5 separate regions of the Homo sapiens genome follow, and regions 1, 2, 3 and 4 are each linked to region 5. The links are contacts of gene promoters, found by promoter capture Hi-C in blood cells and fetal thymus (Javierre and others, 2016). All regions are on one chromosome and are shown on one strand. Each heading gives the region's core, a stretch centred on a gene start or on the middle of the fragment in contact. The rest is flanking DNA. Distances are from core to core; before and after follow the strand shown. Region 1 has its middle 5.1 kb from the start of GADD45A. Region 2 overlaps LRRIQ3 (leucine rich repeats and IQ motif containing 3). Region 3 overlaps FPGT-TNNI3K (FPGT-TNNI3K readthrough). Region 4 holds the start of SERBP1 (SERPINE1 mRNA binding protein 1). Region 5 holds the start of ZRANB2 (zinc finger RANBP2-type containing 2).

The links. Contacts are between HindIII fragments. The CHiCAGO score rates a contact against its expected background, and 5 or more counts as called.
Region 1: a contact is called between a fragment that was not itself captured here and the fragment with the promoter of ZRANB2 in region 5, in 2 of 17 cell types (activated CD4 T cells and total B cells). The highest score is 9.4, in activated CD4 T cells.
Region 2: a fragment that was not itself captured here is called in contact with the fragment with the promoter of ZRANB2 in region 5 in 7 of 17 cell types (activated CD4 T cells, naive CD8 T cells, total CD4 T cells and 4 more); the score reaches 14.7 in activated CD4 T cells.
Region 3: a contact is called between a fragment that was not itself captured here and the fragment with the promoter of ZRANB2 in region 5, in 6 of 17 cell types (total CD8 T cells, total CD4 T cells, activated CD4 T cells and 3 more). The highest score is 11.7, in total CD8 T cells.
Region 4: a contact is called between the fragment with the promoter of SERBP1 here and the fragment with the promoter of ZRANB2 in region 5, in 6 of 17 cell types (total B cells, non-activated CD4 T cells, naive CD8 T cells and 3 more). The highest score is 11.9, in total B cells.

The regions. Positions count from the first base shown.
Region 1 is chr1:67,688,675-67,692,006 of GRCh38, forward strand. No RefSeq gene overlaps it. Among named protein-coding and RNA genes, the nearest start is that of GADD45A, 5.1 kb to the left of the region's middle. RefSeq lists a silencer at 952-1,246. The HindIII fragment of the contact is 2,434 bases long and covers 420-2,853 here.
Region 2 is chr1:74,187,836-74,191,251 of GRCh38, forward strand. The region is part of intron 1 of LRRIQ3 (leucine rich repeats and IQ motif containing 3); the gene reads right to left. Among named protein-coding and RNA genes, the nearest start is that of LRRIQ3, 8.6 kb to the right of the region's middle. The HindIII fragment of the contact is 8,734 bases long and covers 1-3,416 here.
Region 3 is chr1:74,205,723-74,209,214 of GRCh38, forward strand. All of the region lies in intron 3 of FPGT-TNNI3K (FPGT-TNNI3K readthrough), which reads left to right. It overlaps FPGT (fucose-1-phosphate guanylyltransferase), which reads left to right. Exons shown (of 4, transcript NM_003838.5): 4 at 1-2,980. The coding sequence ends at 110. Among named protein-coding and RNA genes, the nearest start is that of FPGT-TNNI3K, 9.2 kb to the left of the region's middle. The HindIII fragment of the contact is 3,271 bases long and covers 1-2,964 here.
Region 4 is chr1:67,428,788-67,432,454 of GRCh38, forward strand. It overlaps SERBP1 (SERPINE1 mRNA binding protein 1), which reads right to left and starts at 1,615. Exons shown (of 8, transcript NM_001018069.2): 1 at 1,201-1,615. The coding sequence starts at 1,513. RefSeq lists enhancers at 152-788, 1,424-2,059, 1,497-1,766, 1,977-2,056, 2,087-2,266. The HindIII fragment of the contact is 6,007 bases long and covers 826-3,667 here.
Region 5 is chr1:71,079,263-71,083,079 of GRCh38, forward strand. It overlaps ZRANB2 (zinc finger RANBP2-type containing 2), which reads right to left and starts at 1,773. Exons shown (of 10, transcript NM_203350.3): 1 at 1,678-1,773. The coding sequence starts at 1,733. ZRANB2-DT (ZRANB2 divergent transcript) reads left to right here and starts at 2,062. Exons shown (of 4, transcript NR_046217.1): 1 at 2,062-2,151. RefSeq lists an enhancer at 1,723-2,012. The HindIII fragment of the contact is 3,322 bases long and covers 1,628-3,817 here.

The sequences.
Region 1 (3,332 bases), core at 387-2,886, 3.4 Mb before region 5:
GCTGCATTAGTTTGTGCAAAGGTGTGGAGGCCTGAAAGACCACAACCAGGTCAGTAAAAACAGAGTGATTGTGTGTGTGCCTCTGGTGTAGAAAGATAAGGGAGCAGCGGGGCTGAAAAGGAAGGTGGGGATTAGGCCCAGGCTGTGAAGGCATTCTGTGTTACCCTTATGCATTTGGGCTTCCTTCTGTAAACTTCAGGCAGATAGCGGAGCCCCTGAAGGAAGTGGCATGATCAGTGTTCTAGGAAAGTAACACCGGGGTCTGTGAAAGATGATTATTGGGATGAGCAGCTGTAGGTGACAAGGCCAGTTAGGAAGTGACTAAGAATCCAAGGTTGTGCATTTTGCAGAACCATTTTTACAGAGCAAACAGGGAAGTGGCCAGGCAAGGTTTTTTGCTGCCCCTAGTCTCTTCCTAAAGCTTTGTGCTTTCCAGCTGAACATTTCTATGGTTCTGAGGGGTCTGCTTAAATTCTATCAGATGGAATAGATGGCAGAGAAGAAAAGCAAAAGAAAAGTCTTCAGTAGAACAATCATTTTTAGTTAGAACAGTCACTTGATAATTAACTCCAACAATCTTGTAGGCATAGACCAAAGAAAGCAAAAATGCTTATGGAGGCAAGGCCTAGCCTTGCTTTTGTCCACAGGAATTTTCTTATCCTATTTCTCAAACCGTCCCCCTTATGGCTCCCCTGCCATCTGTCTTTCATCCTAGTCATGACTACATACAATCAGAAGAAAGGGTAGGGAAAACCCACTAATAGCAACAAAAAGCTCCAAGTTTCTGCATATATTATGAATACATAGCTCCATGAGCCCTTCACCTTGCAAATGACTCTCTTTTCCCACATCTGCTAGAATTGTGGGGTTTTAGGCCTTGTTTAGGCTTCTTGTATCTTTTCACAAGTGACTTTTTCTACATCTGCTAGAAATGTGGGTTTTTAGGCTTATTTAGGCTTCTTGTATCTTTTTAAAATCCAGTGCCCACTCCAAAACATAACTGGTATTTAATATTTGTTTCTTACATTACCAAAAGATTGAGAGCAGTGAGTTTTAAATAGCAAGGTGTTTTGCCTTCCCATTGAAGTAAGGTTTTTTTCAGCCCTTTTTCACAACGATTTGGTAAGAACCCTCTTGCAGAGATGAATGAATTAAAGTGGAGACACACAGTGGATAAAGCTGGTTTGCTTAGTGGAACGAGCACAGTAGCAGCTAGCCTTGATTAGTCCTTCTTCATCCTGTTTTACTCATGTAAAATGGAGATAAGATTACCTATCTTGCAGACTTGTGGCCTCTCCTACAACTCTGCAACCTCCCTCAAGGCAGGTAATGTCTGGTTCATTATTGTAGCCCAGTAGTGGACACAAGTGCCAGCAAGCAGTAGGTGCTGAATTAATATTTATTGAATAAATGAATGATTAGAAATAATGAATACAAACTACCTGGCACATGATAGGTGCTCAATGGAGTGTGGCTGTTTCTAAAACCCAGGTGATAGCAATAGGAAAACTTAAGGCATCAGAGAGATCTGTGTTATGACATGTACATCTATATAACTATGTTTTTCAAAAAGAATTTTTGATCTTTATTCTAAATTCATAATGCTTAGAGATATGTAATAGTACTTATACATTCTTCAGATTGTTTTGAGGAAAATCTCAACAATTACTGTAATGCCATTTGGTTTCTTCAAAAATTTTAAACTCTTGTTTTTCTTTCCTGATTGAGCATAACATAAAGTTAACACAGCATTGAAAAACCCAATCATGAAACAGTTAATTTTAAACAAATATAAAATTACCTGGATGGCTTCTATCTCTAATTGATGCAAATATTCTTTAGTCGTTGCCTTAAAAACCATTAAATGTACTTATTGCAAGCTACGTTACAACAAGAACAGAAATCCCCTCATCTACCTAAGGTGTATTGAATGTTGAAAAGTGGAAAATACCTAATTTTTCCACTGGCAACTTCACCTCAGTGTCATAAATAGCATTGCTTCCTCCTTTCCACACTTAACCTAGGATCTTGGTAAGTTAAACTTTTATAATGAAAGGACCCATGAAAGTAGCTAATCTCCTATAATACATACCTTAGTTCCCAAATAAAGAAAAAAGGGTCATTTTTTAGGAAAGAATTATTTGTATACTGTCAATTGAAATATTTCCAAAGCATGTTTTGAGATGCCTTACTGGAGCCCTTGTGAAATAATTGCTTAATTTTCATTTATATAGGTAGAATTTTATTCTTTGATATGTGGTAAAAGACTGAAATTTGGGAGATAAGTTCTCTTCAAATGAACAAAACTCAGTGGCATGATTTGACACCAAGTAAGTATCCCTCAAAGAAGTGAATACTTTTTTTCTTTTTAACAATACTTTGGTAAACATAAGAACCTCTGTGAAAAGGTCGTATTCATGAAAACCACCAAGAAATATTAAGTGAGTGCTTACTGTGGACAAGGGACTATGCTGGCTATATTGAAGTCTACCAAAAAAAAAAAAAAAAAAAATCAGACACACACTCTGGCCTCAAGGACTTCGTATCACTACATAAATACAAAACAGAAAATTACCAGCAACGTAAGAAAGGCCCAGAGAACTGTTCTGGAAGTTCAAAGGATAGAAATCTCCAGAAGGCATATAGGAATGGAATGGAGAAAAAGGTTGTAAACTCTTTGTTCATAAGCTAGCATCGTATTTTGCAAACAGCACAAAAATGTGATCGATTGATTGAATATTGAATATAATTTTGCTAGGTGCTATGAAGAATACAAAGATGTAGCCTATTAGAGCATTTCTCCTTAAGTTGACAATCTATAAGGAAATCATTAAGCACATTAAAAAAAAGATAAGCTTGTTCATTTCAATCATGCTGCTTATTGAATGCCTATCATTTTCCTGGCACTATGTTAGGTCCCAAGGCCACAAAGGTGAAAAAGCAGCCACCTTTAAGGATATGTACAATTTAGTAGGGATACCTGATACCTGTAATACTAGGTGACAAGTGATAATGAGGTATATTCAAGACCTAAGTGTTCCTGGGGCCAGGGAATGTTTGCCAGGTTCAGTGAGACCTGAAAGATGAAGAGATCTGCCAGGTGAATGTGAAGGGCATTTACTCCAGGAGGAGGAACTATAGCTCAGGAAGGTACACACTGAAGGCATGTTTGGAGCTAGCTTTTGGGTGACAGCAACACTCATACAAGATTTACTACATCCTGAGCACTGATCTAAGCATTTTATCAACAGGAACTCATTAGCACTCTCAACAACCCTGTGGGAGTAGGTACTATTATTAGCCCCATTTTGAAGGTGAAAATACTGACACAC
Region 2 (3,416 bases), core at 225-2,724, 3.1 Mb after region 5:
TTCAACCATTGTGGAAGACAGTGTGGCAATTTCCCAAAGACCTAAAAACAGAAACAACATTTGACCCAGCAATCCCATTACTGGGTATATACCTAAAGCAATAAAAATTGTTCTATTATAAAGACACATATACGTATGTTCACTGCACCACTATTCACAATAGCAAACACATGGAATCAACCTAAATGCCCATAAATGGTAGACTGGATAAAGAAAATGTGGTACATTTACACCATGGAATACTATACAACCATAAAAAGAATGAGATCATGTCCTTTACAGGAACATGGATAAAGCTGGAGGATATTATCCTCAGCAAAAAAATGCAGGGATAGAAAACCAAATACTGCATTTTCTCCCTTATATGTGGAAGCTAAATTATGAAAACACATGGACACATAAAGGGGAACAACACACTGGGGCCTACTAGAGGGAGGAGAGTGGGAGGAGGGAGAGGATTAAGAAAAATAACTAATGGGCACTAGGCTTAACACCTGGGTGACTAAATCAATTGTACAACAAATTACCCTGAAACAAGATTACCTATGTATCAAACCTGTACATCTATCCCTGAACTTAAAGCAAAAATTTAAAAAATCCAAACTATTAAGAACCCTGGCTTCTTAGTTAATGAAATGTGCTAACCTGCTATCTTAGGATGTTACACTTCTCTCTCAGTGTAACCTTCTTTGGCAAATTATTGTCTAGTCATTATTTAGACTCTGATTCTATCCACACATCCCCAATTTAGTGATTACATATTTATATATGTTATTATTTAATGGCCCTGTTTTCCACTAAATTATATGTACCCTGTGAACAGAAAACTTGTTTTATGGTTAGGTAGTTTTTCAAATTTTTCCATAGGACCTGAACTAGAACTGAGTCAGGTTTCAATAAATGTCTCTTTCATACACATGTCTGTCTTTTCCTTTCCTCAGAGAAACAGCAAACTATGGGGAAGGAACCTGTAAAAGACTTCTAAGTACAAATGACAAAGTCTCTCCCATTTCGGTAGAAATCTATTGTAAATTCCTTTATTTTTAATTCTCCACAGCCAATAATCACTTGCAAAACAACAAAAAAGGTTTATTTTTCAATTATTTATGTAGTGTAACAAATCACTCCAAAATTTATTGGCTTAAAATAACCATCATTTTGTTACTCTGAAGATTCTGTGTGTTGACTCAGTTGAAGTAAGCAGTTCTCCAACTGACAGTGGCTGAAGCATCAGTTAGTTCACTCCTCCAGTGAACTGCTGGAAGGTTAGGTTCAGCTGGAATGCTGAGATGAACCAGTCTTTCTTTCCATACTGTCTCAGGACCTCTCTATGTTGACCTGTCCTCTCCATGTCATCTATCCATGTGTGTCTGAAATAGGGTAGCCAGACTTTCTACATGCTTAAGGGCTCCCAAAGCATAAAAGCAGAACCTGTCCAAACTTCCTAAGGCTTAGGTTCAACTGAAGCGTCTCCTCAGCCACATTCTACTGGTTACGACAAGTTCATTTTATTTTTCAAGCACCCTATAAACTAAGTACAGAAAAAGGAAATGAAATGTAAGTTGTTCTGAGATTGGTGATCTCAAGTAAATTATGTATGCTGTGCCTCAGTTTCCTTATCTGTAAAAAGAAGATAATAATAACAGCCCATAGAATTTTTATGAGGACGAAATAAGTCAACCTAAAGGGTTTAGAACAGTGTTTGGCACTTAATGATATGGTTGGGCTGTGTCCCCACCCAAATCTCATCTTAATTGTAGCTCCCATAATTTCCACTTGCTGTGGGAGAGACCCAGTGGGAGATAATTGAATGATGGTGGCAGTTTTCTCCATACCGTTCTTGTGGTAGTGAATAAGTCTCATGAGAGCTGATGGTTTTATAAGGGGAAACCCCTTTTTCTTTGTTCTCATTCTCTCTTGTCTGCTGCCATGTAAGATGTGACTTCCACCTTCTACCACGATTCTGAGGCCTCCCCAGCCACATGGAACTGTGAGTCCACTGAGCCTCTTTTTCTTTATAAATTACCCGGTGTTGAGTGTGTCTTTATCAGCAGCATGAAAACAGACTAATACAGTAAGCACTACAAAATTAATTGAATGCCTAGTTCCATTAACAATTCAAGATAAAATATATGCTTCAAAAAGTGTATCAAGGGACCTGCAGTTTCCAGTATGGCATGTAAGGAGCTTGGAGTAGTCACTCCATCCTAACAACACATTAGAAAGCTGAACAAACTAAAAATCAACAACTTTTCTTAGCTACACAAAGTAAGGTCATAGGGTAAACTGCTGACCACAAAATTGGAGCAACAGACAGGCAGTACAGAAACTCATCAGGAACAGACACACAGATGTCAGGGATGTTGGAAATATCAGACTGGGAATTGAAAACAACTAGGATTAATATGCTAATGGCTCTAATAGAAAAAGTAGGCAACATACAAGAACAAATGGATAATGTAGGTAGAGAGATAGATATTCTAAGAAAGAATAAAAAAGAAATGGTAGAGACCAAAAACATTATAACAGAAATGAAGAATACCTTTGAAGGGCTCATTAGTAGATGGGACATGACTGATAAAAGAATCTCTGACTTTGAGGATATGTCAACAAAAACATTCAAAACTAAAAACCAAAGAGAAAAAAAAAGACTGAAAAAAAACATAACATTCCAGAAGTGTGGGACTTCTAAATGTGTAACATACGTGTAATAAAAATGCCAAAAAAGGAAAAATAGAAAGGAATAAAAGCAGTATTTAAAACAATAATGAATGACAATTTACTCTAACATCGGACACTAAGCCACAGATTCAAGAAACAGAGAACATCATGTAGGATAAATGTAAGAAAATAAAAAAAAAACAACCTCACACCTAGATAATTAATATACAAACTTCAGAAAATCAAAGGTAAAAAAAAAATCTTGGAAAAAGCCAAAGAATTTTTAAAAAATCTTACTTATAAAGGATCACAGATAATAACGACATTTGATTTATCAGAAACCATGCAGGCAGAAGATAGTGGAGTGAAATATTTGAAGTGTTAAGAGAAAAAAAACTCACTGACCTAGAATTTATAAGGGGAAACCCCTTTCACTTGGTTCTCATTCTCTCTTGTCTGCCGCCATGTAAGATATGCCTTCCACCTTCTGTCATGATGCTGAGGCCTCCCCAGCCACATGGAACTGTGAGTCCACTAAACCTCTTTTTCTTTATAAATTACCCAGTGTTGAGTGTGTCTTTATCAGCAGCATGAAAACAGACTAATACAGTAAGCTCTACAAAATTAATTGAATGCCTAGTTCCATTAACAATTCGAGATAAAATATATGCTTCAAAAACTATATCAAGGACACTGTATGGTGCAAAATTATTCTTTAAAAGTGAAAAAGAAATAAATTCTGTTAGATAAATATT
Region 3 (3,492 bases), core at 79-2,578, 3.1 Mb after region 5:
ATAAGTTGCTGTCCATTGAAGAAATGCTTATCTACAAAGATGTAGAAGATATGATAACTTACAGGGAACAAATTTTTCTAGAAATCAGTTTAAAAAGCAGTTTGATGTAGAGATATTTTAAATATTGTACACTTTGCCTTTTTGAGTAACATTCCAGAGATAGGTATTTTTTGTAGGCTGTTTCACTGAACTCAGTTAATGAAAACTGTATTAACATAATTGTTGTAGCATAATATTAATAGTGCAAAAGTACATATAAGTCATTTTGATGAAAAATATTCCAAGACTAAGTTGAGAAAAGAGATACTATTTTGGATGTGTATCAGTATTTTTGTTTTTAATAATGATTGATTTGTGGAGCATTGTTTTTTCACATAATTAGTTTTAAAGGTAATTTTCTAAGCATACCTTTGGAATTTTTCCATCTTTTTTGAGGCTTTTGGTCCAGTGAAGTTCTAAGTATTCACTGGCACTTCTCTCCTCAACTGTAATTCTATTTTTAATAATAAAAATGGCATACTGTAGGGTCTTCAGAGTAGTGTAGGAATACTGTAGAAATACTTTTTCAGAAACGAATCCATAGCTGACAAATTCACTCAGTGCCCAATATATTGTGATTATTTTCGTTGATAAAGAACTAGATACAAAGACCTCTGAAATTGATGATAAAATTTGTATCTCATTAATTTTATCAAAATGAAACTAAAAGTACATATGTATTATACACTTGAACATGTGTTTGTATATCTTTAAAATTTTCCTTTATGTTCCATTCCATAGGAAAACACACATATGCACACAAAACTCAGTTATCTGTGGGGAAAGTGGTAGTAATAATTGAGATTCATCAATAATCATATAATTTCACTATAGACATTACTTGCATTATCTCCTATCAGTCCTTCTAACAAAACTTCAATTACCAGATGAACTGACTTTAGTTTTCATCTTATTTTTTGTCCACATGCTGGTGATGCTGAGAAACAATAATTGGCCCAAATGCAGACATCAAGAAGCAGGCAGGAAAATGGAAAAACTGAGATAATACACAGGTGATAAACAGTTTCGAGAAAATAAAAATTGGCTAGAATCTCAAGTTATGTGTTTCTATATTGGTATAAGCATATAAGTGAAAAGTCTTATAAGTGTAATAGAGAAAAGATTTGTCAGTGTGTTTTTTTAAATGAAATAACTAGTCTGTGCTACTTTATGTCAATATAAAAATTGGTAAACTAGAAGTAACTTGTCCACAACCCTCAGTTATGATACTTATGTGCGTGTTTTTTTTTCCAAAGTTTTTCCCAAGGAGAAGATACAAATATATGGTAGCTATTGTTTAAAAATGATTGATTTACTTGCAGATTTTTCAGAGGATGTTATGTCTTTGTCATTCATTAAATGTTCAAAATTGTAGTTTTACCAAATCTGAAGTGCCATCAGTTATAAGAATCACCATTATTTTATGTTCCATTAAGAAAAACACAATAAAACATGACACTGCTTTTTTTGTTACTTGAAATTTTCATATTTATTGGAGAGCTCTTTTAGATGTTTTTAAATACAGATTTTTATTTAACCCTCTTGCATATACATATAAAATAACAAAAAAATAAAATATTGAGATATCATCAAGAAATTTCTACAGCTTCACATTCAAACTCTTCAGCACTTTCAGAGCTATTGATATGCATATGTCCACCTAGTACCATCTTCTCTGCTTTCAGAATTATTGGTAAGGCTGCATTTCCTGAGTGCTCTACCACACTTATGTCTGGATTTTTTTTACCCAGCTACAGACCCACACTCCTGCAAGATTTGATACCCTTCTATTTGGCAAAACTCAGTTTCACTTTTCTTTCAGTTTAATCACAGGTCCTTAGAAGATCGGACCTGTGATTCTATTCAAAGTCAGAAAGAGATTTCTCACAAATTGACGTCATATTAACATGTCAATATGAAAATTAATTGTTTGGTAAACCAGAAGTGACCTGTCTGAAGCCCTCAATTGTGGTATTTGTGTGTTTGTTTTTTCTTTTTCAAGATTCTTTTTAAAGAAAATATATGGTAGCTGTTGTTTAACATTTATCTACTTACAGAGCGTTCAGAGGATGTTATATGTTTATTAAGTGCTCAATACTGTATTTTAACCTAATCTGAATTTTAATCATAATCCTGTACAATGCATGGATTCTGGTTGCTTTGAAATGGTTCTGTTCAAAGGACTTATCAATGTCTCTTGCTTTGAGATGTATTGCTTGGTGTGTAGTAGCACAAACGTACCACCAATAATGTACCTAATTCAACTGAAGTGACAGTCATATACGCAGATATGACCAAGTTCACATGTGAGCAAGTAACAACTCCATGACTATTGCTGCCTGGCTAATAGCTATTATACTATCATTTGTAAGGCACATTCTGTTTTCTGGGGTGTCGAAATGTGGATAAAAAAAGATGAATTAGGAATGATTCTAACCTAAGTATGTGTTTTAATAAAAGGATCTAGGCAAAAAAAAAAAAAGTAAGTCACTCCTAAATTTAATCCCTGAATAATGCAGTGTACATGATGATAGAGGAGAAGTGTGTTTTTGATAAGAAGTGACTAAATTTTGTGACAATCTTAATTTTTTAGGCTTTTCATTTAGTCTTCCAATAAAGATAATTTTTTTCTGAGTTTTATCAGCAGTAGAAAAATAAGACCTACATGGATAAGTTTGAAATTAAACATTTTGTCTCATTTTATAATTTTTATTTTTATGAAATCATGGCACTTACATCATATACTCAGGTGTGTAAAAGCCTGCTATTTGTAACTATAATCCATAAACTTATTGATGATTTAATAACTATCAACAAGGGCATGGGAAAAATTCAACATTTGATAATAATCTTTTACCTTAGGCATTTATTCTCTAAGCAAAGCAGAAATAAAGGATATGTATCAGTGTATACTGATTGAAATAAAGCTTTAAAAATCCAAGTGATACTCTGAAATTGTCAAAAGTTTAATGGCATGAATCCAGGATTAATTCCCATAACCTGTGATGATCTAGTCATCTTCTGTAGCTACATAGTACTCCTAATGTTAAGATTACCAAATTCAGCAATAAAGCCAAAATCAAAACTGCCTTCTGTCACATATAGCTGTTAAGTAAACTACACAAAATCAGAGTTGCTGTTTACATACATCATGATGCCGTCTGGACTTGAGCACCTTGGCGGCTCAGGATTAAGGCACCTCAGTCTAGCCTAGCAGAGTTACAATGGAGAGAAGTGAAAACTCATTAGTAGCTCAAAACAAGCTAAAGGATTTCAGATGCTCTTTTTCTTGTTCATCTAAATCAAGTCTTCATCTGTGTCAAGAACTAAATTGTTAAAGACCTTTTTAATTTGCTTAGTGCAAGAAAAATAATAGCAACCATATATCTAGTTAACTTGAGTCTTCTGTGCCTCTAAAATTTTGTTTAGAGAAAGCCTATTTCTATTGAGGTT
Region 4 (3,667 bases), core at 365-2,864, 3.7 Mb before region 5:
TTTGATTTTTAAAATTAGTTCACTGTTACAGAATTCAACTAAAGCTAAAGAGAAACAACTCCTTTCAGAGAAGCACGTGGCAGGAAGGGGTAATTTCAACTTTCAACATATAAATGCAGCTTTAAAGATTCAGACCTTAGGTCCAACACCTGCTTGCTATTGATCATGCACGTTCTTATCTCCAAACTGCTTGCTCTTTTTTTTCATCCGCAACAAACTGGTAAAGCGAATGCAAAAATCAAGACAATCCTGTGAAACTCACAGTGCCCTAGAAACAACTATTAACCGCCAGTGAAACTCTGACCATGCTTCACGCACATGTGGTGGAAAAAAAAAACTGCGAACTCTAAAGAGCTCTGCTGCGACTAACGCTGTGACAGCCTCTGCACTCACTTCACCCACGAGGCCCAGACCCCACCACGTGAAAGATTCAGTTTGGGGAGTCGAGAGAGAGGATCGTGACTCGAGGACGTTCCTCGGGATGTCCTGCAATCACCAGTCTTCATTCATAATTCCCGCTCCTGGTTAATCGAGTGTGGCCAAACTCCTCCATTTCCCAACGGCTCAACTCACCCCAGCAAGTTATGAGAAAGTCCTAACAGTTGAGAGGTGGAAGAGAAACAAATAAAGGACATGCGGCACCCCAACCTGCAGCTTACTCCACACGTCTGATGGCCTGGAACGACCCCCTGCTTTTCAGCGGGGATACTCCGCGCCGTCGTGGGACAAGACGGCAGGACAGGAGCCTGAAACAACAGCACCTCAAAGGAGCAGCTCTGCGCAGTAAGCAGCGATGGACCCCCAAGCTCCTCCGTAACTACGGAAAGCTTCGGTGAGGGGCCGGCTTCCCCGCACCTCAGTCCATGCGCTCACCCGCCAAGGAATCCGGCGGGAAGGCAACAGCCTCCCAGGACCTCGAGCGCGCTCGAGGAGCAGCTCATCTCCGACCACGCTCCTCTGCTCACAACCTGAGGCGGGAAGGGGATGGCTCCGAGAACCTCGCCGGCGGTGGCTTGAACTTGGGGCTACCACGCTCCTGGCACCTTCGCAGGACCGGACTTTTGTCGCGTGAAGAAACGTGAGGATATAGGCGGCAAAGTCTCCCGCGGACCCTCGGAGCTCCAGAAACAAGTGGCAGCCGGCAGCCCCCTCGCTCCTTCCCTCCATCCCAGTCTCCCCCACATTCTGCCCCTGCTTTACCTTCTTTCTTAAGCGCCACGGGCGGCTGCGTCTCCTCTTTCTTGTCAACCACGCCAACGCTGGGGGGCAGCGGGTTCTTGCGGTCTTTCTGGGACTCCTTGCGCAGCTGTTTGCCTGCCGCGTTGGAGTTGGTCTGGGCCGCGGCCTGAGCTGCGCTCTTGGCCCCAGGGCCCCCAACGCCGCCCCCGCCGGCTTCTTTTTTCTTGTTCTCTGCTGCCTTCAGCACCTCGAAGGGGTCCGATTCGTCGTCAAATAACTGGTCGAATCGGTTGGTGACCACGCAGCCGAAGCCTTCCTGTAAGTGCCCAGGCATGATGGTGGCTCGGCGGCGCGTTCCTCCACGGATTGCAGCGGGCCGCGCCGAGCCAAGAGCGCCTGCTTCAGCTCTTCCCACAAGATGGCCGGGCCGAGAGAGGGGGGCCGTCTTCTCTTCCGGCGCCAGGCACACATCCGGGAGCGGCCTGCGCCGCAAGGCACTGTGGGGTATGTAGGCCAGAGTCATTTCTCCTGAGGCGACTCTCCGCGTCGGGACTACAATTCCCAGGACGCACCGCGCGACAACTCTTCGCGCGCGCCTGAGAGGCGAGACCCCATGAGGGGAGTGAAGCGTGCGGGCTGAAGGAAGGGAAGCGTGGTGGTGGGCGGAGTCCTGCCACCTGCTCTGGCCACCCTTAAACTCTCTAGGTCTTCAGCTACCTTGAAACCAAAAAACCGTGACGGCGTAACTGACTCGCGAAAGTGCTCTTTGGTTTCACTCACGCCCCCTCGGGCTCAGGGCTAACTTTCCCCACCGCTCCAGGGGGGTCAAGGTGACTCCCAGACCTTACATCTGAGACGCACAAACTTCCGGGGGAGGGGGTGTTGCTGAGGCGCCGCGCCGGCCGCGGGTAGGCTGGACCCTGCCTGTGCCAAGTCCGAGCTGCTCAGTTGCTGGAGTGGCCCTCCGTCAGCCTCCACGGTGAATCGAGGCTCTTCTGTCTAATGTGAGGGGGAATACGTTTCCTCTCGCGGGGACATGAACTAGGGTAGCAGAACTAACCAAAAAGACAAGTGAAACTATCACATGGGAGCGTGGCGCGTCTTTCCCGGGCTTCTCACCGTGTGGCGGCGGGTGTCGTAGGAGTGGTTAACTCCTGACGGTGCAGCGCTAGACGCGGGGCAAGCCTCCAGGAAGCACTGTTTATAGAAACCCTGTTACAATTATTCCAATTAATCGTCCGTTCGTGTCCGGCAAGTCAGGGCTTAGGTGGCTGTGTTGTTAGTCACATGCGCTCAATACATATCATTTGAGAACATTTCGAGTGCATGTGTGCTAGGAGTTGCGGTGAGGGGAGGGAAATATTGAAGTCAACACTTAATAATGACAAAGCATTGATACTAGTTGAGAATATTAAAATTCATTAAAAGAATACAATTTGAATGCGTATTTAAGCACATTTGGTAGCACCGGGTTTAAGTATATCATAATTTTTAAGTCCTTTTCCATTAACACAAAGTAGCAAATGCATCGCTTATTTGGTAGGAGCTATGAATAACCTTGAACTCAACATTTTGTTAGGCAAATAGTTTGCCTCTTTTCACAAATGTTGAAACCACTTCAGAGATGAAATGATTTACCAAATTCACACCTCTGTAAGTGCTAGTGACAGGCATTAGCCCAGTATTCTATCTCCACTAGGAGACTGGACATCAGCTCTTTAATTCAGACTGCCCTGATAGAAAGCAGTCCAATTTTTAAATTTCCGATATAATTTAAACATTGTTGCGTGTCAGGATATGTAACATGGCGGAATGTAATCATCAATTTCCGAGCAGATTTTAAATCAATTCCTTAGCAGGGAAAATAGAAGACACGAGTCATATTACATACATGGGGCAGCAAGCCTCCTGGTTTTCTTGTTTCTCAATCCTCCCCTATTCCTCACTTATTTCCCTGCTGCCTCAGTCCTGCACCCTGCCCACAACGCCCAACCTCAAACACACCCCCTATCTCATCCCCCCTTCCACAGGCTCTGGTTCTGTGGCACCTACCAAGACAAGGAGCTTTTGACCATACTCTTCCCACCTTTTTGAAATAGCTCAAGTGCAATGTAGAAGATCTCCACATTTTGACAGATTTTCTCTCTTCACGGGCTGTTGCGTCTCTGAGACTGCCTGCATCTTTGAGACATCTGTGAAAGCTCCTCTTCTTAACTCTTTCTGGCCACGGCCACAGTAACAATATTCATACTAAAACGTGATGTTTTAGTGTGTGCTTGGTGCACTTTACATACGTGATCTCCTTTAAACCTTACATCAACTCTATAAGAAAGTTATTACTCCATACCTCCCCCCCGCAAAAAAAAAGTTATTGCTCCTGTTTTAAGATTAGGAAAATGAAAACAAAGAGCTTAAGTAAGTTAACTACTCCTGCCACAATCTGGGGGGTGGGGCAGGCCTGTTGTTATTCATTTTTCTCCTCCATTAC
Region 5 (3,817 bases), core at 523-3,022:
CCTCTGAGACTTCGCTGAAAAAAATGACACAACCACCAAAACCAATAATCTCAACACATGTAGTACAGTAAGACTTTATGCTTATACTCAACAAACTCAAACCTAAAGAATTACTGGTTCACTCACATGACCTTAGAAGTGTACGTGTATATTGGTAAAAGTATGTTAAATGCTCTGGATAACATGGAATGCTTAAACTTTAAAAAGCTGATTTTTAAGGCATTATACTAGAATACAATACAGATGTGAAGTATGGGATGACACTAAAGTGAAACACTCTAAATAATATTTAGGTTAAGTTTTTCCCCTAAAAATATTCCTTTTAACTCCATTAAGCATGGAAAATATACTCTGAAAATTTATCCTGCATTTAAACATATTGTACAAACAACATTCTATTCATATATTTGTAAATGAGTTGAAATGAACTCTCATTGAGAGTCCTACCTCTGGGTGTGCTGTCATTAAAGACACTGACAAAAGCACATTATTTTACAGGTAACAACAAAGTCAGAAGTTGTTGTTCTAAATCTTTTGAACGTTTTCAATAATGTCTTACCACTCAGAGCAATACTATCCATAACATATAACTTTGGTTCTATTCAGTATCATTTGTTAGGCTTGAACTACTCCTTCAGGTCATCTTAATATCAAATTACTATCAATAGCCACCAATTAGAATTTGCTACACGTCACTGTTTACACACCCTATCCATGTTATTTCATGTTTTCATTAAAAAAAAAATTCTATTCCTTTTTTAGCAGTTAAATAAGTAATAGAATTTTAACTAAACCCAGGTTTATTTCAAAGTTTTTGCTTTTTACAATCAAAACCTATTTGTGGCTAACTTAGGTACAACAAATAAAAGGCTTTTATGTGAACATGAGTTGTACATTAAATTATTTTCCATGTTATTTCCGAATAGATACACCTATTTGTGCACCCTTCAAAAAAAATCTGATTAACTATCTAGTCGAGTACTGGCTTTGGCAACAATGTCAAAAAGCAGAGCCACTAACACACGTGCTTCTCTGCTGCAGGCATCTTAAGGGCTGAGTAGGCAAAAACACAGGCCTCTTCCCTCCTTTTCGGCTCTAAGGAGGCGAAAAGCCCAATTCTTGTGGAGAAATGATCCACAAAGAAAATGTCAGAATTTCCCAAACCGAAGAGGGTAGAGCTTCCGGAAAAGGGGAAAATAGTATGGAGGAAAAGTTTGAGTAAAAATACAAAACAAGGTGAACTATAAGAGGCAAAAGGACGAGTGCGAGAAAGCAATATTTTCCGTGAACAAGAGTAAAGTTCTGCAGAGAAAAGTCACGTGGGGGAGATCCAACACCAAGCTGGCCTGACTGGAGAGGTTTCCTATCGCTAAAACCTGGCCGGGGCGGGGGAGGGGGGTGGGGGCAAAAAGGTAGGCCATCTCGCACTCTAAAAAGAGAGGCTACCTTGCGGAGGTAATGTCGAGGAAACGCTGAAGACATATCTAGAACAAAGGCTCCCGGAAAGACCTCTCTCGTGAGGAGATTGGGAGCCTTCTTCCCGCCAGGGAACTGGCGGTTCGCCGCCTCAACCCGTCTTAAGGCACAGAAAATCATAAAAAAGGAAAATGCCGGACGGACCTCGGAAAGCTTCCACTAACAAACTCCGTCCCAATTCAGGACCCTTCTTGAACTCACTTTTTGTCAGGGCAAATCCAGTCCCCGTCACTGACTCGGAAATTCTTGGTCGACATCTTGAACGCCACCAGCACAGCCACCCGCAGCTATGTCTTCACAGGAGGAAAACGGGCCGGGGACTTTCGGCAACTCGGGGCTGTCCCCACACTGCCTGACTCGCGCCTACTACTGTGTCAGGGTTTGATAATGAGGGAACTAGCCAGGAATTCAGCTTGTACGTTGTTGTCCAGACTAAGATGCCTGTGCTACTGTTTGTTAGATGGAAAAGTTAAAATACAAATATCTTTTCTAGAACTAAACTCACAGGCGCCATAAGGACAACCCAGGCAGGAGGCCTTCGTGGCACTAGAAGCCTCGGAGAGCCCCCTACAGGTGGGAGGACCCAAGAGTAAAGTACTTCCGCTTCCTTAGGTGGAGCTGGAAAGGTGGAGGCGGAAGTGACTGATCAATTCAGGGGCGTGGGGTTCGTTTAGGGTAAGAGGCGGCTCGGGCTCTTCAAGTGTTTAGAGAAATTATTTTAATAAGGCATAAAAATTCTGTTATTTCATACACATGGGATGTCGTTTGGAAACCTATTTTTATATATACATAAATAGGTGTAACAGATAAGTAAGCAACTTATACATGGGAACCAGCTGGTAATTTTAAAACTGAGACATTGTCAACACTGTTTAAATTACCAGTGTCTTTTCTGATACCATCCCATTACTTTCTTCCACAGATAACACTTTCCCATATTTGGGATTTATTCTTTTGCTTTTTAAAAATTTATGTACGTTGTTAGTCCAAACTGCACCATTTTTGTAAGCCCCCCTGCCATTTTGCAGACCTTAGTCAAAGTGAAACATTCCACGGGGTTCGGGCGTGAGAAACAGGCTGCCTCTTATACTCTGCTGGGAGAAAGTACCACATTCCACTGGAACAAGGGCCAGAGCCGCCTCGTCCTGGGAACACCTTATCAACATGTTCCCAGGAAGCAGGCCATGGCCCCCCAGACCACTCCCACCCAGGCCTATAAATCACCCCAGCCTGTAAGAAGCAACGGGCACTGGCATTAAGCTGGTCTCCCACCTCTGTAGGTCTTATGCTGGACATAAATCCTGTATTTGTTGTTAAGCCACCCTCTCTTTCTTTAATCCTTGCCTTCCCTTCAAAACCTAACATACATGTATGTTTAATTTTATGAGCTGTGTAAGCATAGTTGATTCTGTACTCTTTTTTTGTTCATTATGCTTCTAAATTAATCCTAGGTAGTTGCATGTAGAAGTGTATAGGTGTAATTCTTTTATTTGCACTGATGTATACTGATACTATTCCGTTTTGTGGTTTTGTGACAGTTTATTCCTTCTGTTTCTCAGGCTTGGTATTACAAACAACACCAGTATGAGCATTCTTATGCATAGATTCTGGTATATAAATGCATTAATTTTTTTTAGAATACAGCATATACAGTCATGCCTCACTTAATGATAGGGATATGTTCTGAGAAATGCCACTTTCGGCAATTGTGCTGTTGTGTGAACATCATAGAATGTGCTTACACAGGCCTAGCAGGTATAGCCTACTACACACCTAGGCTATATGGTATAGCCTATTGCTCCTAGACTACAAACCTGCATTTAGTACATCTTATTGTACTAAATACTGTAGGCAGTTGTAACGCAGTGGTATTTGTGTATCTAAATATAAAGGTACAGTAAAAATATGGTATTGTAATCTTATGGGACCACCTTTGTATATGTGGTTCATCATTGACTGAAATGTCTTTATGCAAGTATGATTATGTTTAGGAGAGAAATTGTTCAACTACTCTCTAGTTATGATTGTTGCTTTAAAATCTGTATTATAACATTTTGGTCATCTAGGAGTTAGCAGGTGTTGATTATATTTTCCCTTGCAAGTTGGTCACATTTTTCCAGTTCTTTTATACTGTGTAATTGTGGATTTTATCTAGGACATTTTGAACATTATGTTGCATAGACTGAGTCCTGTTAAAAGCCTTTAGGGAATGTTGATTTTTTTTTGTTTTAGAAGGCAATCGATCCAATTTGGTTCAGGTCAAAAGTTCGGTCTCATCTTCTATGAGTACTGGTTCCATGTCAGCTGGGTTTTCAAAGGCTTTGCTGTGTCCTATACCTAC